Linked DNA regions of Homo sapiens: region 2 is linked to region 1. Evidence: promoter capture Hi-C in human tissues and cell types (Jung and others, 2019). All regions are on one chromosome and are shown on one strand. Each heading gives the region's core, a stretch centred on a gene start or on the middle of the fragment in contact. The rest is flanking DNA. Distances are from core to core; before and after follow the strand shown. Region 1 holds the start of ISX (intestine specific homeobox). Region 2 overlaps LARGE1 (LARGE xylosyl- and glucuronyltransferase 1).

The links. Contacts are between HindIII fragments. The study calls those that stand out against the background at their distance.
Region 2: a contact is called between a fragment that was not itself captured here and the fragment with the promoter of ISX in region 1, in 1 of the 25 tissues and cell types used here (dorsolateral prefrontal cortex).

The regions. Positions count from the first base shown.
Region 1 is chr22:35,064,420-35,067,718 of GRCh38, forward strand. ISX (intestine specific homeobox) reads left to right here and starts at 1,739. Exons shown (of 5, transcript NM_001303508.2): 1 at 1,739-2,043; 2 at 2,333-2,897. The coding sequence starts at 2,669. The HindIII fragment of the contact is 5,369 bases long and covers 1-3,195 here.
Region 2 is chr22:33,738,635-33,741,952 of GRCh38, forward strand. The region is part of intron 2 of LARGE1 (LARGE xylosyl- and glucuronyltransferase 1); the gene reads right to left. All of the region lies in intron 4 of LARGE-AS1 (LARGE antisense RNA 1), which reads left to right. Among named protein-coding and RNA genes, the nearest start is that of LARGE-AS1, 15 kb to the left of the region's middle. RefSeq lists an enhancer at 1-516. The HindIII fragment of the contact is 7,179 bases long and covers 1-3,318 here.

The sequences.
Region 1 (3,299 bases), core at 489-2,988:
CTTCTCTGGGCATGTCTCCTCAGCTGTTAAATGGCATTAATGACACCTAATTGATCAGGCTGTTGAATGGATTAAGTGAAACGGTGAGCACACAGCTGCAGGCACGAGGTCCAGCAGAGAGAAAGGGCTCCATCGCCTCTCTCTTTTTGCCTCTGCCACTTCCACCCCCAAAGATCCTGTCCTTGCTCTTGACCAAGCATCTCAAGTACCCATCAGAGCTTCCTCTGCCCTGAGTGTAAGGAACCTTGTCCTCTCATCCAACAACCCCTTCCATGGACCAATGGTGGGCCTGACTTCTAGGGGACTCTGGCCTCTTCACTGCAAAAGTCAACAAACTGGTTCATTTGTCTCCTGGCAGGAAAACTCCCCTGTCCAGCCCTAGGAAAGGGATAGGTCTAAGCAGGGTCATGTGACTCCCTCTGGCCACAGAATGTGAGCAGAAGGTCTATCAACCACTTCCACTTCTGACTCATCAAAATTTCTCCTTTCAACAGAAAACCAAATACTGAATGTTCTCACTCATAGGTGGGAGTTGAACAATGAGAACACATGGACACAGGGAGGGGGAAAATACACACTGGGGCCAGTCAAGGGGTTGGGGGCAAGGGGAGGGAGAGCATTAGGACAAATACCTAATGCACGCAGGACTTAAACCTAGATGATGGGGTGATAGGTACAGCAAAGCACCAAGGCACATGTATACCTATGTAACAAACCTGCACATTCTGCACATGTATCCCAGAACTTAAAATTAAAAAAAAAAAATTCTCCTTTGCTGTCTCCCTTTCCCCAGAAAACTTGGAGCCTATGATTGGAGAATGGTGGCATCACTGTTTGAAAGGAATCTGGGTCCCTAAATGACTACATTAGAATGTGATGTGGGTGAGCTATTATGCTCCCAAGACTATAGGGTTTACTTGCTACTACAGCAGAGCCTATTCCCCCCCTAACTAAATCAGACAGCCTGACACTTCCAAGGGGCACAGCTCCTAAAATGGGGCATCTTTACCTGTTCCCTCTCTCAGGGTGAGTCCCTCTCTCTCCTGACTCACTCTTCTCAGGGAGTGGAGACCAACGTTCCCTATCCTTCACCTCCCACCCCTGCCCTCTATGAGAAGATCTAGATTCTAACATCCAAATTTACATTCACAGTCTCTGCCAGGGTATCCATCCCTCCTGTGCAAATTGGCTCCTTGTGGCCAGCATGGCATCATGGACATCCCCAGGGGAGTACTGTGATCAGGCCCTGCCATCACATTTTCTGTACCTCCTTGGTCTGGACCTCAGTTTCCCCATATCAGAAAGCCCTGGAATGCTTTTCCTGATCTGATATTTGCAAGCCATGGAAAGCACATCTGAGAGCAAATGAATGCCTAAGGCTGACAGCCAGCAGACTGCACCTCAGCCCAGCCTCCCCCACACATGACCACAGGCTCTCCTGGCTGAGTAAACATGTTTTATTGGGCCTGGGTACACTTCCTGGCCATTCTGCTCCCACCTTCCCTTCCCCTGCTCTGGCCAGTTCCCCAGCACAGCCCCTCCCTGGGGCCTCCAATACCTGTCCTTCAGATCCCCACTGCCTCCTGCCACTTTTCTACCCTGACACCTGCATCCCCAGCCTTAAGGGGCGTGGAGAGTTTTTCTCTTATCAGCCTGTTTTACTGCCCCCTCCTCCTTGGTTACACAGTAATTTGGAGCAAAATTCCAGGCAAGGACAGATCAACAACTGTCAGCTCCCAGTCAGAGAGAAAGGGCCTCTTCAGTCTGTCTCAGGAGACTGGGAGAAACAGCATAAAGGACCCCACAAGGAAGGGAGAGGTACCCTGGGTCAGGCGCTTGTGGAGAGAGGGCTTCGCATGTAAAGTGACGTCAGGGAAAATAGAACAGAAAAAAAGCCAGGGCCAGCCCAGAGGCACCTGAGAAGAATCAGACCCACAGCTCAGCCCAGCCCTGGCACAGAGAAGAGACAGGCCTGGCAGCACCCAGGGACCCCCTTTCCTCAGCCTCCACCTGCAGGACAGCAGGAGCACTGATGCGCTGAAGGTACGTTCTGGAGTCTGGAAGCAGCAGAACTGAAGGAAGTAAACACGGGTGTCTGGGAAGACCCCTCAAGCTGCAGTAAAGCCCAGGACTGAATTGGCCACCTGAGGCCAAGGGTGGCACTCCAACCTCCTCCTAAAGGCTGGCTAGAGCCACAGGAAAGGGCCAGAAGCCAGAGAAAGGGCAAAGGTGGACCCCTGCCTCCAAACCTCCTCTGGAGACTGACCTCCTCTTTCCTGTGCCTTATTGTTTCTCCCTCTTCTCTTTGTTCGCCACTGGGCGGTGACCTCAGGGATCCTGGCCTAACCTGGTGATTGTGCAGGCAACTGTGTCCGAGAAGACCCTTCTCTGGAAGATTGAACCCCAATTCAGCCATGGTGACTCCTTTGATGTCAAACTGGTAAGGGCTGAGCCGTGGGCACAGGATACCACTCCTTCCAGCTCTTCTGCTGTGACCTGCCCATGGAAGTCCCTGTGGACACGAAATCCTGTTTGGATCATCTAACTGGAGGCTCTCTGTTCTTCACCTCCACGCGCCCTCTTGACCCCAGGAGGTTCAGGGGAGGAAGTACGCCACTCTCCACTGGCACCCTCCTTGGCCTACACAGAGTCACCCCTGAGCCCCTCAATGTGTGCTGAGGTGGGCCCTGCTCTCTGCAGGGGTATGGAGAGAAATAGCTTGGGGTGCTGTGAGGCCCCGAAGAAGCTGAGCCTGTCCTTCTCCATTGAGGCGATCCTAAAGAGGCCTGCCAGGAGGAGTGATATGGACAGACCAGAAGGGCCAGGTGAAGAGGGCCCCGGAGAAGCTGCGGCCTCAGGCTCTGGGCTAGAAAAGCCTCCAAAGGACCAGCCCCAGGGTAAGTGTCTTCTGATCATTTCTTTCTGTTTCCTGGTCTCCAAGACCCAGCTGGGCTCAGGCAGAGAAAAAGCTTCTCCGTCCATATTAACTGGATAGAGGACTCTAAAATTCAGAGCAAGACCTGGCTCTGGGCTGGTTTCCTGATATACCTTTCAATCTAACCCAAAACTGTGCTTTTCAGCTTCAGACACCAAGGCTCAGTTAGTTGCAGAATGCAGGGACCTGGGGCTTGTTATTGTAACCAGGCCCCGGCTAAGAATGCTAGTTACCATTTATTCAGCATTGACAATGTCATAGGCATTCTCTTTTAATTTCAGTAGAAAAGCATGATTATCATAACTGGACAGATAAGAAAACTCATCTGTGAAAGAGAAGAGGAGGATAATGTCCCCAAGTTACA
Region 2 (3,318 bases), core at 245-2,744, 1.3 Mb before region 1:
GGATCACGAGGTCAGGAGATGGAGACCACGGTGAAACCCCGTCTCTACTAAAAATAAAAAATTAGCCAGGTGCAGTGGCAGGAGCCTGTAGTCCCAGCTACTTGGGAGGCTGAGGCCAGAGAGTGGTGTGAACCTAGGAGGCGGAGCTTGCAGTAAGCCAAGATCACGCCACTGCGCTCCAGCCTGGGTGACAGAGCGAGACTCCGTCTCAAAAAAAAAAAAAAAAAGAGAGACCATGCTTCCCAGTTTCCATGGACTGGAAACTGTATGTCCCCATGTATGTCCCTATCCCCCCCGCATTCTTAACAGTGTTCCAGTTTGGACAAGACATTATACAGTCATCCTAGATACAGTGGGCAGAGTATGACAGGAAGAGTGAAGAAAGCAAAGACAAAATTTGCAAGCCGTGTAACCTCAGCGTACGTACTTACTCTCTCAGGCCTTAGTTTCCTTATTGGAAAAATGGAATAACAGTACATGCCTCGCAAGTTTGTCAAGATTAAAAGAGATACCATGTGTCCTTTACCGTGCCAGCCCTGGGCTCACTGGGCACGTGTAGAAACTTGATGGGCGCTGAGTTATCACTGGCTGTTGGTGCACACCGGCAGGACCAGCCTGGGATGCCTGGCTTTGGGAATAGCTCTTTTCCATCCTAATTTCTTGATGAACTCTCGAGCCTCCCTGTCTCCTGTTCCTGCCCCTGGGCATCTGACATCCTCAGTTCACAGCTAACTGCAGAATCATAGCATGAAAAAAGGCATACTTCTCCAAGGGCTGAATAGGATTTCATAAACCAAAAAACCTACAGCTTTCAGCTGCGGTACTGTCCTGGTCTAATTTACCCTGCAGCCACGCAAGACAATGAAGTTGGGAATTTCTATTTGAGGGAGTATTTTTCCCCTTCTCTCCCTCTCCTGACAGTGGTCTTCAATAACAGCCTGTGAAGCTCTGGGTGCAGGGAGGCTAAGGGAGGGAGTCAGAGAAGTGAACTCACTGAAACGCATCTGCAGAAGCAGATCACTAAATGTCCCACAGACAGTGGTGCAGCTGACAGTGCCTGAGCTCAGTGGGGCAGCCTGGGGAGAGGAGAAGAGCAGGAAAAAATTAAGCTCTTCCTTGGGCCTGATGAAGATTAATATCTCCTCCCTGATGAGATGAGGCAGTTTAATCGCTGCTATTAATACAGAATCACTGAGAGCCAAAGATGAGGGCATGGAAGGAGGCGGGGGATGAGATGAGAGCACCTCAAGGTATGAGTACAGAAGCGGAGAAGGACCCCCTGAATGTAGAAAGACACAGCTGATTTTCTGCAGGGCTCAAAAGCCAATAGAGAAATTTGAGAGCTGAGGCACTGTGTGGTATGATACAGTGTTTCAGACTTGCTGTGTTGCTTTTCCTACTGGGATCATCTGACTGATTGGGTTAAACATGCCGATCCCTAACACCACATCTGGCATACGATCTCAGCACACAGACCTTGACCATCGCTTCCTGGAGAGCCCAACAATGGCAGGACTCAAGCGTGGTCTTCTGACTCCTCTCCTTGGCCTATTCCTAGTCATGCTTCAAGATTCAGCCCAGGAGGCATCTTCTTCCATGAAAGCTTTCTTGGATGTCCCCAGATACTTAGGTGCCCCTTTTTCTGGATTCCTGAACACCGGCATACATACTTCTATTATAGCAAGTATGCTAAATGGCAATAGTGAGTCCTTCCCTGCAAAAGAAGATTGCTCTCAGCCTTAAATTCTTGCTTCCCACCTTTCTATAATTTCCCTTTTTACTCATTAATCAGTGTTTCCATCATCTCATCTCCTGGTTTCCTCCGAGGACCTATTATCTTCAGAAAAGGTCATTATCACCTAAGACTAACAAAAGAACAATTTTCATCAGGACAGAAACTATGTCTTAATCTTAGTGTCTTTCTCGGACTCTAGTCCAGTATCAGACGTACACTTGGTACTTAATAAATATGTGCTCGGTATGCAATGATCTAAGAGAAAAAGAAGGGGTTAGGGCATAAATGGAGGCACCAAAAAATCAGCTGGCCACCTAGGGGAAACCTCCACATCCAAAAAGAAAGGTGCAAACCAAACCACTATGGAGACCTTGAAGTCCTGCAACCTGCTCAAAAGCCACAAGATCATTCTCAAAGGTGCGCCATTAAATAAAAGCAAAAACAGTTCATGCCCTCCCCCGCCACCGCCATCCTCACTCACTCAAGCTCTGTGTGAATTTTCAACTCAAATATGCTCAGGATTCCCGACTCTCCAAATCCCACACCATCTGACATTTGGGCCTGAGAGTTTGAGAAATGTGAAAGAGGCATGGAAGAATCCCAGAAGAGTAGGCCTTGTGCAGAGCAATGTTTACCTTCGATTGTCACAGAATGATCTGGAACCACTTCATTAAATAGAAGGAAAATTGCAAATGTGAAGGCTACTAGTTTGGGATTCATAAAAGAAGGCAAGCCTTTGTCAAAATATGTCTGCTGTGTGGATGATAAGCAGCACTCTGAGCACGAAGGCCACACGTGTGGAATAAACGCTGCAACATTATAAGCACTGAGGCTTCTGGACCCCAGCATTTAATTAGATTACAGTCTTGACAATAGCTCACCTGATACATCATGCAATAACAAGCTCCCTTGGGTAGGTTAAAAATGCAAATTAAGTGTCAGAAATAGGAACACCACCTCAACTACTGAATGCACTCCCACTAAGTGCAAAGCACAGGAGATGGTTTAAAGAGGCCCAAAAGCCAGTTTTAACCTTCAAGGCACAGGTTGATAGCAATATAAATATCTATAGAAAGACCAACAACTGAAGCATCAAATATTAGTCACCTGGATTAGTTGCAAACATTTCTGGTGGAGGGAGCTGAGACTCTCCTACACACCCAAGTGTGCTGCAGCCAAGTGCAGAAATGCGGAGCCAACAACTGCACCCAACACCGCTGGGCTTGGAGTTGCGAGAAGAGCAGGCTTCTGGCAGCACCAACACAGCCTGCAAATACCCATGACCATAATTTCTCACGATGCCACAGGCAGGATGAGGTGAGGACCCCGTGAAAGCGACTGCACAGAAACAGAGACACTGAGAAAGCACAGGCCAAGCGCCTGGAATGGCAGCGGGAAGAAAGAGCTCTGTCCTGCAATCACCTTGCAAGAAATCCAACCTTTCCAAAGCCCAGAGCCAGGAGGGGTGTGCAAGAGAACGTGAGTGGGTTCCATGCCCACCCTCCAGATGGATGGAGCCTCTGTTCGGGCAAAGAACTGCTCCTTGGCTGAGGGTCCCAGCAGAACCAGCTTCAGATACCCCA